2 separate regions of the Homo sapiens genome follow, and region 1 is linked to region 2. The links are contacts of gene promoters, found by promoter capture Hi-C in blood cells and fetal thymus (Javierre and others, 2016). All regions are on one chromosome and are shown on one strand. The core of a region is centred on a gene start or on the middle of the fragment in contact, and the rest is flanking DNA. Distances in the headings are between cores, read along the strand shown. Region 1 overlaps GATAD2B (GATA zinc finger domain containing 2B). Region 2 holds the start of SLC27A3 (solute carrier family 27 member 3).

Evidence for each region. The method cuts DNA at HindIII sites, captures the fragments that hold promoters and counts their contacts. A CHiCAGO score of 5 or more calls a contact.
Region 1: a fragment that was not itself captured here is called in contact with the fragment with the promoter of SLC27A3 in region 2 in 2 of 17 cell types (monocytes and M1 macrophages); the score reaches 5.7 in monocytes.

The regions. Positions count from the first base shown.
Region 1 is chr1:153,885,510-153,892,693 of GRCh38, reverse strand. The region is part of intron 1 of GATAD2B (GATA zinc finger domain containing 2B); the gene reads left to right. Among named protein-coding and RNA genes, the nearest start is that of GATAD2B, 34 kb to the left of the region's middle. The HindIII fragment of the contact is 3,746 bases long and covers 3,843-7,184 here.
Region 2 is chr1:153,771,241-153,777,810 of GRCh38, reverse strand. It overlaps SLC27A3 (solute carrier family 27 member 3), which reads right to left and starts at 2,404. Exons shown (of 10, transcript NM_024330.4): 1 at 1,647-2,404; 2 at 1,084-1,293; 3 at 591-749; 4 at 1-50. The coding sequence starts at 2,313. INTS3 (integrator complex subunit 3) reads right to left here. Exons shown (of 30, transcript NM_023015.5): 26 at 5,848-6,015; 27 at 5,371-5,471; 28 at 5,100-5,172; 29 at 4,730-4,886; 30 at 3,003-4,618. The coding sequence ends at 4,541. RefSeq lists a silencer at 1,777-1,968 and an enhancer at 1,337-2,003. The HindIII fragment of the contact is 7,576 bases long and covers 1-6,448 here.

The sequences.
Region 1 (7,184 bases), core at 4,466-6,965, 110 kb before region 2:
AGGTTTCTTACAAGTCTACTGGATACTGTCTAATGTTGGGCCCATTTTGATGACAAAATTATTTTATAATATTGTTGGACAGAAGCGATGAATGTCCAGAATTTCACATTGGCATATCTTATCCATCAATTCTGATTTTAAACTCCTTGACCATTTACTAGTCAATTGTTATGAGCAGCTATGTATTCATGTATCCCTCTACAGTCTAGAGAGTTCTAGGTGAGTGATGATGCTTTGACCCTGAAAGACCCCTTTACTTATCAGTTTATTTATTTTTCCCTTGGATTCAATAGGAGGGAATACTTATTAGTATGTTTAATATTTGGTCAGCTAGATCTTTTTTCCTAGATATCTGATCTTTAGCCTTTAGTGTGTCTTACCTTAACTAGTGGTAGTGTTCTATATACTATAATAGTCTTGTTACCTGTTTTACTCTTGAGTTTTGTGAGTGACTTATGCTGCTTCTAGCTAGGCCTGGGGATTCTGTCCCTAATTGTCTTGTCTTTTCTTTTTTTTTTTTTTTTTTTTTTGAGACGGAGTCTCACTCTGTTGCCAGGCTAGAGTGCAGTGAAATGATCTCGGCTCACTGCAACCTCCGCCTCCTGGGTTTAAGCAATTCTCCTGCCTCAGCCTCCCGAGTAGCTGGGACTACAGGCGTCTGCCACCGCCATGCCTGGCTAATTTTTGTGTTTTTAGTAGATACGGGGCTTCACCATGTTGGCCAGGATGGTCTCGATTTCTTGACCTCATGATCCGCCCGCCTCAGCCTCCCAAAGTGCTAGGATTACAGGCATGAGCCACTGCACCCGGCCATAAACTCTGTCCCTAATTTTCATTGTGCTTATGTCTTTTAGTAATTATGTTAAATCTAGCCATTCCTTTTATTTTTAAATTTTAGTCAGTTTTTGGATAGGTGATATATGCACATGGTACAGAATTTACAATTGGAAAAAGTTTACAGTAAAAAAGGACATCTCTTTCTTTGGAGACAGAACTTAATCTACTTCTTTTCCCTCCCCTCCCCCCCCCCCATACTTACCTCCTCTTACCCTTCCCCTCTCCTTTTTCCTTCCCTTTGCCTCTCCCCCCCACCTCTTTTTTTTTTTTTTTTTTTTTTTTAAACGAGACAGAGTTTCACTTTTGTTGCCCAGGCTGGAGTGCAGTGGCACGATCTCAGCTCACTACAAACTCTGCCTCCTGGGCTCAAGCAGTTCTCCTGCCTCAACCTCCCAAGTAGCTGGGATTTACAGGTGCCCGCCACCACACCTAGCTAATTTTTTATATTTTGAGTAGGGATGGGGTTTCACCATGCTGGCCAGGCTGGTCTTGAACTGCTGACCTCAAGTGACCCACCCACCTTGGCCTCCCAAAATGCTGGGATTACTGGCATGAACCACCACTCCCGGCTGCCTTCCCTTTTTTCTTCCCTTTCCTTTTTTTTTCACCTCTTTCTTTCCTTTCCCTTCCCTTTTTCCTTTCCTTTCTTTTCCTTTTTTATTTGTGTGTTTCTTTGAGGCGGAATCTCGCTGTCGCCCAGGCTGGAGTGCAATGGTGCGATCTCAGCTCACTGCAAACTCCGCCTCCCAGGTTCAAGCAGTTCTCCTTCCTCAGCCTCCTGAGTAGTTGGGATTACAGGTGCCCACCACCACACCTGGCTAATTTTTGTATTTTTAGTAGAGACGGGGTTTTGCCATGTTGGTCAGGCTGGTCTTGAACTCCTGACCTCAGGTGATCCTCCCACCTCGGCCTCCCAAAGCGCTGGGATTATAGGTGTGAGCCACCGCACCTGTCGGCACATTTTATTAAAGAAAAACTTTGCATGGTTTACTTTTTGCCAGTCTGTTCTGGCATGCGTTTAATGATAGCAGAATCACCTGGGTTAACGATAGCCAGTGTACAAACTCTGTAGTATTTTCTACATGCCTTACAGTTATTGTCACTGTAATGATGGATGCCAGTTTTGGCCAACATGGTGTTTAGTACTCTGTTTTGGATTTCCTTAAAGATGGGCAGTTGGTGAGGATGACCAATTTCACTTTAAATAAGTTGGAGCCTAGAGTTGATCAACTCCAGCCGCTTTTTCATCCTCTGCGGCCACCAGCTTTCTGTCTTAGGTTCAGGATGGCCCCCAACCAAGAGCAGCTGCCAGGCTGGCTGGGAAGCAAGAAAGCCTGTTTCTTGTTCTGTCGTTTTTTTTTTTTTTTTTGAGACGGAGTCTTGTTCTTTCGCCTAGGCTGGAGTGCAGTGGTGTGATCTTGGCTCACTGCAACCTCTGCCTCCTGGGTTTATGCGATTCTTCTGCCTCAGCCTCCTGAGTAGCTGGGACTACAGGTGCGTGCCACCACGTCCGGCTAATTTTTTGTATTTTTAGGAGAGACGGGGTCTCACTGTGTTAGCCAGGATGGTCTTGATCTCTTGACTTTGTGATCACTCGCCTCGGCCTCCCATAGTGTTGGGATTACAGGTGTGAGCCACCACACCAGGCCTCTTATCTTTCTTTTTTTTTCTTTTTTTTTTTTTTGAAACAGAGTTTCGCTCTTGTTGCCCAGGCTGGAGTGCAATGGCGCGATCTTGGCTCACTGCAACCTCTGCCTCCCGGGTTTAAGTGATTCTTCTGTCTCAGCCTCCCGAGTGGCTGGGATTGCAGGCATGCCCCCATGCCTGGCTAATTTTTTGTATCTTTAGTAAAGACAAGTTTCTCCATGTTAGTCAGGCTGGTCTCCAACTCCCGACCTCAGGTGATCTGCCCACCTTGGCCTCCCAAAGTGCTGAGATTACAGGCGTGAGCCACCGCGCCCCACTGGCCTCTTATCTTTCTATTGATAATGTAGATGTTTGTAAATTTCCTGTGACTTTTTTTATTTTGTATTCTGAAGAACTTACATACCCAAATAGAGTACAAAGTAATTAACTTTCATGTGCCCACCACAAGCTTCAAAAATTACTAACATTTTGCTATTCTTTACAGTTAATTTTAATGTTGAAAATACAGAGAACATATGAAAATAAGTAACATGTGAGTGTATTTTAAATTTGACGTTCACGCATCTACAACTTTCCTCTTGCCAGCTGTTTCCTTTTATGTTGTCTCCATCTTTCTCATTAGTGTAATTATGAGGGGGGTTAATTGTGTGATTGTCTTGAAATTCCGATAATTGGATGGCTCACAAGTCTACCAAGTTTGAGTGAAGTAAATTCTGAACTTGCCTGCCCAGAGTGATTTATAAATATACATGGTACATTCTTTGTTTTGTGTGTTTTTTTTTTTTTTTTTTTTTTTGGAGACGGGGTTTCGCTCTTGTTGCCCAGGCTGGAGTGCAATGGCACGATCTCGGTTCACCAGAACGTCCGCCTCCTGGGTTCAAGCAATTCTCCTGCCTCAGCCCACCGAGTAGCTGGGATTACAGGGATGTGCCACCACGCCCTGCTAATTTTGTATTTTTAGTAGAGATAGGTTTTTTCCATGTTGGTCAGGCTTGTCTCGAACTCCCGACCTCAGGTGAGCCACCACACCCGGCCTGATACATTCTATTTTTATTCAATAATTAGATCTAGTTCTAGTATAGCCTGTTGAACATAGCAATTCAGTGAGGTGATTATTAAAGTGGAGGGCAAATTAAAAGATTTATGGAAGTCACTGACTGTATGGCTGTGATAACTTACATTTTAGTCTTAGGTTTTCTATTATTACTCCTCATGGTTTGGGGCTCTTAAGTCAGAGATTGAGTAGAACGTCACTATATAGAGGGTAGCTATATATTTTTTTCTTTTTTGCATTGTTTATGATTTCAGAGGATAAAGATAAGAGCAACCTTCACAACAGAAGTGAAAGATGAGAAGCTTAATGTAGAGTAAAATGTCTGAAGCTCTAAGTGAAACTGTTGATAAGCTGGGATTTCTACTCTTGGAACGCTAGAGAGGAAGAGACACTTAGATACTTAGTAACAGCAAAAAGCCAGGCCAAAAAGTAGAACTCAAGTGCTTAGAAACTCTGTGGCAAAAGAGATAAACGTGACTACTAAAACTACTTTCTCTTTCGTCTGTGGCACTTAGTTGATAACAGTTGTTAGCACATTTAGATGTTCAAGTTTAATTTTTGTTGTCAGAAAAGTATGAACATTTGTGACTTGCCTAAAAAGAACTTGGTCCCCCTGCAAAGATAGAGGGAAGGTACAGATCGGAGTGAATGAAAATAATCAGCAATCAAGTATTAAGAAATGAAGTATTTGCACACCTCATCACTGGGAATCAATAGCATGCTGCTGATACAGGATGAGAATAAGTTAGGGATTTAGGACTATTCTAGTTAGGTACTATCTTGTAGACACTACTAGAGATACTTTGTCTTTTGGAAGACAGAAATTATTCTGTAGGTATTAAATACTAATATAATGCTCCATATGATTTTCATGGTTTTTTTTCCAAGGATAGGCAGTGGAATCCCCCAGTTGCCTTAGGAAAATGTATACCACCCTTACAGAAGAGATTGGCCTAGACACATCTTGTGCTGTATGATAAATGAAAAAGTTGATCTGTTTATTTTCTCTGTTCCTGTATGATGATTAAGTCATTGAGTAGTGTATGGCAGTAATTTTTTTTTTTTTTTTGAGATAGAGCCTCACTGTGTTGCCCAGGCTGGAGTGCAGTGGCGCGATCTCAGCTCACTGCAACCTCCGCCTCCCAGGTTCAAGTGATTCTCCTGCCTTAACCTCCTGATTAGCTGGGATTACAGGTGCCTGCCACCATGCCCGGCTAATTTTTGTATTTTTAGTAGAGACAGGGTTTCACCATGTTGGCCACGGTGGTTTCCAACTCCTGTCCTCAAGTGATCCAGCTGCCTTGGCCTCCCAGAGTACTGAGATTACAGGCATGAACCACCACACCCAGCCTGCAGTAATTTTTTATGCTTATTTGCAATACTTGAGTCAATAGAAGTCTTGAAGGCCTCTACAGTTATCTTACTTCCTGTAAACCCATAATGAGTTAACACATTAAGGAATATGCTTTGACTGTGTACAGTGGCACACACCTTAGTCCCAGCCACTGGGACAACACAGCGAAACCTTGTCTCTTTAAAAAAAATAAAATAGGAGTACTACTTTGAGAACAGTACTCCCTAATTTAAATGCTGTCTCAGGACTCGAAGTCTTGTTCTCATTTCTTGTGTCTGTGTTAAGAACTAGTCCATATTCTGCATTATAAGGTAGTGTACCTAGTTTTTACTTTAGCCAAAATTTTGATAAATACATCTTCCCAAATAGTGGTAGACACTTACTTCACTTGTCAATCAATCAGTCATTGATTGGTAACTCCCAAGTGATTGAAAACTGACTTCCCTTGTTAGACTAAACTGCCTTTTTCCAGAGAACTCAGCAGTGCACATTAGGTTGGGTGTGATTCCCAATTTGTGTATCAGGGATTGGGAAAGCAAATGGTTTTCTTTGTATTAGTGCTTGATTGCCTGGTGTGCTATTTCTAAACATGTGGAGAGGAATCCTCATCTCCAAAGAACTGATGTTTTCTTTTGACCAGTTGAGCTATTTTCTGTTTAATGAAGAAAAAATGTAACTTTTTGACCATATGAATGGGGTTTGGCTGTTCTGTGATCTGATTTGTTGTTGTAATAGTAATTTTGAAGCATTGTGGTCTGATTTCTCCAAATAGACTGGACCGACTCAAAGCAGACAGGACTATAAGAAGTAGGAGAGGACTAACAGCTAGATAAACAAATTTTGGCTTGTATTATTGGACACCAGTGAATAATTTTAAGTGTAAGTTAACCATTTAGCCATGTTTCAGCATAATGTTGGCTTTTTAAAAAAACAGCTATTTTTCGGCCAGACGCAGTGGCTCATGCCTGTAATCCCAGTGCTTTGGGAGGCTGAGGTGGGCGGATCATGAGGTCAGAAGATTGAGACCATCCTCGCTAACACAGTGAAACCCCGTCTCTACTAAAAATACGAAAAAAAAAAAAATTAGCCGGGCGTGTTGGCAGGCACCTGTAGTCCCAGCTAGTCGAGAGGCTGAGGTCCCAGCTAGTCGGGAAGCTCAGACAGGAGAATGGCGTGAACCCGGGAGGCAGAGCTTGCACTAAGCTGAGATAGCGCCACTGCACTCCAGCCTGGGCGACAGAGCGAGACTCCGTCTCAAAAAAAAAAAAAAAAAAAAAAAGGAAAACTATTTTTCAGCGTTTGTAATGGTTCTAATACTGATCTGATTGCTGAGTCCAAGGATATACAGTCATGCCTCACGTAATGGTAGTCCCATAAGGTTGTAACATCATACTTTTGCCATACATTTTCTATGTTTAGATATGTTTAAACAAATACTTACCATTGTGTTATAATTGCCAGTATAGTAACAGACTATACTATATAGGTTTATAGCCTAGGAGCAATAGGCTATACCATCTAGGTTTGTTTAAATACACTTTACAATGTTCACACAACGGTGAAATCACCTAATCATGTATTTTTCAGAATGTATCCCTGTTGTTAAGCAACACATAACTGTATGTTAAAATGGGGACAAAGATTTAACAAGTTATTTATAAAATTTGTAAAGGGCAAAGATAACGACTGTTTTTGCCAGTTTATGATATTACTGAGTTTTTGTTAAGTGGTTCTATGAAGTTTACATTTCTTTTGTAGGAGTACCTTTAAGCATTCAGTTGCAATCAATTTGAACTCTGTTGCCTAAGCCTGGATATCACCTCTTTTCTTATGCTATTCTTTGTGATTTGATCCTCCCAGACAGCATTTATCAAATTCTTTTTGTATCTAGGTTGTACATCTTTAGATCTTTAGTCTTCCTTTTTTTTTTTTTTTTTTGGAGACGGAGTCTTGCTCTGTCGCCCAGGCTGGAGAGCAGTGGCGCCGTCTTGGCTCACTGCAAGCTCCGCCTCCTGGGTTCACACCATTCTTCTGCCTCAGCCTCCTGAGTAGCTGGGACTACAGGTGCCCACCACCACGCCCGGCTAATTTTTTTGTCTTTTTAGTAGAGATGGGGTTTCACCATGTTAGCCAGGATGGTCTCAATCTCCTCGTGATCCACCCACCTTGGCCTCCCAAAGTGCTGGGATTACAGGCATGAGCCACCGCGCCCAGCCCACACTCAGCTAGTTTTTGTATTTTTAGTAGAGACGGGGTTTCACCATGTTGGCCAGGCTGGTCTCGAACTCCTAA
Region 2 (6,570 bases), core at 1,155-3,654:
TTCCCAGAACTGACCAGCCGAGAACTTGGATTTCAGCACCACTGTGGCCCCTGCCAGAAGTGGGCAGGGGGGAAGAAGGGAGGTAAGATTAGGAGCAGAGTGGGGAGCCCAAGCCCCTCTTTCCAGACCCCAGCCATCACTGTAGTCTTTCCCTGGGAAGGGCCCACTGTGGGAGTCACACCGTCAGGAAGCCGTGCTGGCCCTCTTTCCCCTCCCCCGGCCCCTGTCCCCAGCCTTAGAAGAGGTGAATGCCCTTTCCCTACTTCCCAGCCCCAAAGATCTCATCCTCCACACTCTCACTTCCTTGTCTCTCTCTCCCTCTTCTCTTACTTGCCTGTTCCTGGACTGACACAGTCCTTCCCTGCCTTTGACCCTGCAGCCTGGAGTTATGTGGCTGTATGGCCCCCCTCACCGTTCCTCAGTCTGTAGGTCTAGGCAGGTGACATTGCCCTATTGTACAGAGCTCCTGGTGAGTAGGGCTCTGCCCCATCCGTCCTCTAGATTATCTACCCTGGAGGACTCACACCATAGTACGTGCTTAATAAATGTCTACTGGATGAATTAATGAAGGTGGGGTTGGGGAGACTGACCAATGCCCATGCAGCCCACGATGCCCAGCAGGGAACCGGACATGTGGTAGAGTGGGAGGGCGAGGTAGATCACATCTTCCTGGTGGACACCACACAGCTGATAGAAGCCCTGGCATTGCAGGATCTTCAGATGACTGATCCGAGCAGCCTTGGGGAGGCCTGTGGGGTGGCAGTTATGGGACGATCAGGGGAAGGGCAAACTCCAAGCTCTACCTATCTGTTTGCACCCCCGCTGGGTTTCCCACAGAAAGAGGCGGAGGCAGGACAGAAGCTGAGGACCGAGACCAGGCTGTCCTGGAAATATGGGTGGTCTGGGGGAGGTGGAGAAATGAGTAGGAGGTGAGGAGACTGGGGAGTGAAATGATGGGGAGAAAAAGGATGTGCCAATGAAATCAGCATCCTCTCTGGGGGCTTTGAAGGAGTGGTCTGGGAGCAGACCCCTGCCTTCCTCTGCCTTGGTTTCGGGGAGCTAAGTATGGTGCCCGGCCCTCACCCGTGGTGCCAGAGGTGAAGATGTACAGGCACGTGTCTGTTATGCTCTGGGGGGAAGAGAGGTATCCTGGCACTGGCCCATCCACTTCAGCGGACACTTCAGCCAGCAAATCGCTAATTCCAGCAGGGTGGGTTCCTGGGCCTGCAGCCCACAGGTGGAGCCCCATGGCTCTCAGGGCGGGCAGGTCCGGCTCCAGGGACTCCAGAAACTCTAGAAGGGTGGGAAAGCACAACGCCGGGGCCCTGGCTCTACCTAGAAGAGCCTATGACCCATGTCCCCTCCCTATCCCAGCCCACACTGCTCTTGGATGAGGGTGAAGGGTATGGACATTCCATCTTGGGTCTGAGGCCTGGAACTCGACTCCTTGGGGATCCTTGGGGCACCAAAGATTCAGCCTCATCCCTTCTCAAACCCGGAGACTCCTATCTCCACCCACTTTCGAACCCCAAGGGATAGTCGGCTTCTTCCCAGGCCCAGGGATGAGACCAAGCCTTTCTGTGGTCTCCGACACGCCCCCTTCTGTGGCTGGCCCCGCCTTAGTCAGTTCGGAGCTCCAGCCTTACCTGGCGCCAGCACCAGCGCGCGCGCGCCGCAGCTGCGGAGGCAGTGCAGCAGGGGGCCCCGGCGCAGGGCGGTGGGCACAAAGGCAGTGCGCAGGCCGGCCTTGGCCAGCCCGAACCAGAGCCACAGAAACTCTGGGCCAGCGGGGAGGAGCAGCGCCACAGTTGCTCCAGGTGACAGAGGGGCGGCGGCTCCTCCACCTCTGGCGGCACCGTCCCCTCCGGCAAACTCCGCGCCGCTTCCGGCCGCTGCATCTCCGGCTCCCGGCGCTGCCCGCTCGCCTTCTCCAGCGCTCCCCTCGCCGCTGTCGCCGCCGTCGGGTCCCCAGTCCCAGCCTAGCGCACGTAGGAAGGCGCGTGCAGCCCTGTTACTCTCGCGCTCCGCCTCTGAGTAGCTAAAGCGCCGCGAGCCGTGAATGAGAAAGGTGTGCGCGGCGCGCTGCTGGGCCAGTTCCGCGAGGCGCCAGGCCAGGCTGCAGCCCCCCTCGGGACCTTCCGGGTCGGCGGCAGCCGCGGCCAGGGCGCGAGCTCGAAGAGCCCTTTTGCAGCACAGAGCTCGCACCGCAAAGGCCAAGTCCGCCGGAAGCCAGCGCAACTGCGGCCAGAGGTGTAGCTTCAGCAGCAGCAGCGGTAGCAACAGCAGCAGGGGCAGCAGCAGGAGGGCAGCCATGGAGCCCGCTTCCTCTATCGGCACCGTCTGGTTCCAGCCGCTCGCAAACATCCCTGATCCTCCCTTCCGAAAACCTAGGGCCGCTCGTTCTAGCTGAGACTTCTCCTTCCAGGGAGCGCGCGTGCGCTGGCACACGCCCATTCCCACCCAGGCCCCCACCACTCCACACGGGCGGAGAGCAGAAACCCGGGAGGAGTGCGGGTGTGGGGCGGCCCCGGACTCCCAGCCCTCCCCCCACAGCCTACGCTCCGCCCTAGGCGCGCTCCCTCCCGGACTGCTCGCGGCTCGCACCCTACCAGGTCCTGGGCGGTGCTCGCGCCTTCCCTGAATCCCAGGGTTATGTCTGTCTTCTAAGTTGTTTCTCGGCTTGGGCGGTTTAGGCATCTGGCTAAGCCCTAGAGTCCAGGCCTGAGAGCCAGGGCGTTTGGATCGCAGTCCATCTTCCCCTCAATATTTCTCGTTTTCCCGTTAAGGGAAGGTACCATTGCTCTCTCCCAAAAGAATGAACTTGGCCCCTGGCCCATTTGGTTCTGCAAGTCCCGGCCTGCCAGCCGCAACCCCAGGGGATGGGTGGGGGCTGAGAGTTAAATAGGGGAAAGGTGGAAACCCAGACTGCCAGATTTCTGAGGGGTCACGACAGAGGCCCCTCCCTTTGGGCAAGGGTACAATAATTGGGGCCAGCCAGCAAATGCTCTCCATCCTGGTTTTAATTGGGACAGAGGAAACTGGGGAAGGAGAGAGGAAGGAAAAAGAAGCCTCCAGTGGTTTAGACTTTCAAAGGAAGCAACAGCAGTGATGAGGGAGGGGAGAACCTGGATTCTGTAAAAAGACAAATTTTCGGGGTGAAGAGGAGCAGCTCTGTGCAGTTCGCCCAAACTTCACTCCTCAGTCCACCTCCATTCTCCCTGGACAGCGGGGGAACAACAGCATAGCCAAGGAACTCTCCTCTGCTGGTTCACATGGCCCAGCAAGTGGCCACACTGTGGAAGGAAGAGCATCTCTGTCCCTCCCTGGTATCCAGACTTTATCTCCAGGTACAGTTGTCCCTGGAGACCAAGCTGGAGCATCCCTCCCGTCAAGCAGCGAGTCCTCCGGCCATTCTTGGTAGGCACACAGACTTCAACTGGAGGATGACAGACCTTTTGGAAGCATCTTGTTTCTTGAGAAATGAGTAAGGACAGGCCTCATCCTACGGGGGATGGTTCTGCATAGACAGATCAGTGCCTGGCTCCCACCTCCAGTGGCAGCAGGAAGGATGGGTAGTGGCCAAAGCCAAGTCCCTTCTGCTCTAGACAAAAGTGGGGGCAGAACAGGAAGGGAAAGGGGGATGTTCTGCGGTTACAAGTAGGGGTGCCAATCAAATCAAGACCAAGCTATACATGCACGGGGCAAATGCCAGCAGACACTCCAGCACAAAAGACATTCTGGCTTGTTTTATTGTCATTTAAAAACAACTTTTAAGACACGATTATCTCTGCCAAAAAAAAAACAAAAAAAAACAAAAAAAAAAACAGACTCAAGGAAATGGGATCATTTGACAATTCTGTGAAACTTGCCTCTGGGACTCCCTGGGCTCTGGTGTAGATTGAGGTGCCAACCTCAGACCAACCTAAGCCTCCAGGGCACACCACGTGGGGCTGTGGCCACCCTTTCAGACTCCTTTCTGAATGCTTGTGGCATCTGCCCCATGATTAGGAATGGACACCCTGACCACGTCATAGATGCCCATTTCACACTGGCATGTGGATAGTGACTATAAAACGTCCCTTCAGAACAAACCAAGACCTGAAGGGGAAGCAGGAAGGGACACCCACACACTGAGTCTCTGCTCTCATCCTAGCTTATCTGGCCAGCTGCCCCTTTGTCATTTCCCTTCTCTGTTGAAATGGCTCTTTGGGAGACTGGGGGAGGAGATTGCGGAAGGGGCCAGGGGGCTGAGGACTTCCACTATGGTCTGATTTTACAGAGCCTCTGGCTTCAGTCAGATCCCAAATATCACTGGGAACAGCAGTGTGAGGGGCTGGAGGCCCCAGGAGGAGGGAAGGGGCTAGGGGCTGCATGGCAGCTTCTCAAACTCAGCCAGAGGAGAAAGCTCCTCCTTCCACCGGGGGAGCTTGGGGATGCAGCAAGGGTGTTTCCCCTGCAATCTCCTCAGCCTCTATTAACCTTTGAATCACCAAGAAGGAGAGGGCAGTCCAGCCGGGGGTGGGATGGGGAATGCAGGGCCTCAGTCACTGTCAGAGCCCACTGCAGAGGACCCTTTTCGTTTCCGCTTGGTAGGCTTCGGTTTCGTGTCTTCCTCTTCCTGGAAGAGATGGGAGGGGAAATGGGAAGTTAACAGCCTGGGCAGCTGCTGGCGCCGACTCCACCTGCACCCAGTGCTCCTTTTCCCCCTGTGCACTGGCTGGGTTCTCACTGAAGCACTGCTGGAGCCCGACTCTTCTTCGGCATTGGGGGGCTGTGTGGCATTCTTTCGACTTCGAGGGCTGGACAGAGCTGCTTTTCGCCGGCTCTTGGGTGGCTTGGTGGAAGAGTCCTCATATTCCTCCGCCAGGGAGAAGAGATCACTGAATCTAAGGAAAAGGAGCGGTAGCTCTTTGAGTGGGAGCCTGCTGCTCCTACGGCACCTCCCATCCTCTTCTCTGCCCCCAGGCCTAGGCCTTCTTTTTCTTCAACCCTGGACCCTAAGGTCTTGCTGGCCATTACGTTTATGTCCCTAGCAGGCTTCCTCTCCCTTAGGCTTTTCCCCTACTACTTTCCAAGGCCCAAAGTGGCAGGAGCCTCACTTCATCTTGTGGGCTTCGTCACAGCTCGCTTGGACATGCTGCAGCGCCTGGAGAATTGGCGTCTGGCTAAAAACTAGAGGAAGAAAAGGGAGAGCAGGGAAGGAAAAACAATCAGATGTCTGGGAGCTTATTAAACAGCACGCACAGGTTGTTTTATCCCGAGTGTGGGTTGTGGCCCCGGGTGTCCTGCCCCTGCCCCCAGCCTGGCTCCAGGCATAGTCTGGGCCAGGGCAGCACCGTCTACACTGGACGCCGAGGGTGGAAGGCATACAGTTCTGCTTGGTGTTGGTCAGGTTGAGCCGCAGATTGTCCAAGTGCTCCAGGATCTGCTCCAGAGTCAGCTGGGCCAGCTTGCTGCTAGAGCTCCTCAGGCTGTGCAGGAATCACCAGAGCCAGAGTCTGAGTGTGGGAGGGTTCCAGAGTGCGAGACACCCTCCACCCGCCAGGGCCCCCTTAAGACAGAGGCAGCCTACATGGGGAACAGGATAGGCAGCCTGGGAGGGCTGGGGTTGGGTGAGAAAGGTGTGCCTAGAACAGGGGATCCTGGCCACAGGGGCACTGGAAGATGGGGAGAAAGGGCCACGGTGGTCTCGCATGCCATGTGGCTTCGGACCACTAGATGTCGCCCACAAACCAGGCTGGGACAGCACTGACCCCCATCACCACCACCACCACCACCACCACCACCACCGACAGCAATCACTGCAGACCGCCATGGCCTGGAGGGTAGACAGGGACCGTGTCCCACCTCTGTCTCTTGCGAGGCAGGCTGTTGTTCTTGATGAGCAGGGACTTGATGTGCTCGGCCAGCAGCTCGTCATGTTTCATGCACCAGTGCCGCAGGATGCTGGTGGTGAACTGGTCGTCAGGATGGCAGGGCCGGCTCAGCACCATCTTCACCATCTCCTCGCTGGGCCTGGGGGAGGAAGGGGGCACTGGGTGCTGCTTGCACAGTGGCCGCAGGGCATGCTGGGTCTCTCCCACTTATTTCCCAAGCCCTGGCCTCCCCACCCACCCACTACTCTCACATCCCTCTCCCTCTTCTCCTTAGGCCAAGGAATGCCTGGTTTCATCCTCTGTGGAAGCCAGGAGAGAAGAAGTGAGATTCTTCACTTGCTGTGGTAGGAGAAGGCGTGTGCGTGTGTGTGTTGGGAAGGAGGACCCTCAGTTCTCCTCCTCCTCCCCTAGAACAGTCAGGGAGTGGGCCTGGGAGGCAGAAGCACAAGCATGTGGCATGCAGATGCTCCCCTACCCCTACCCTGCTAAAGCTGTGGGCCAACCTGGCTTCCAGCTGGAGGAAGGGGGCAGGAGAGGGTTGTGAAGTCACAGCCCCATACAGCCTCCAAGCTTCCCACTTCCTCTAGGACACTCTGTACCATTTATAGTCTCTCAGGCAAGAGAGCAGAAAGGGTGGAAGGAAGGCAGAAAGGTAGGAAGGATAAGATACACAGCTGCTGCCCCATTTATCGGG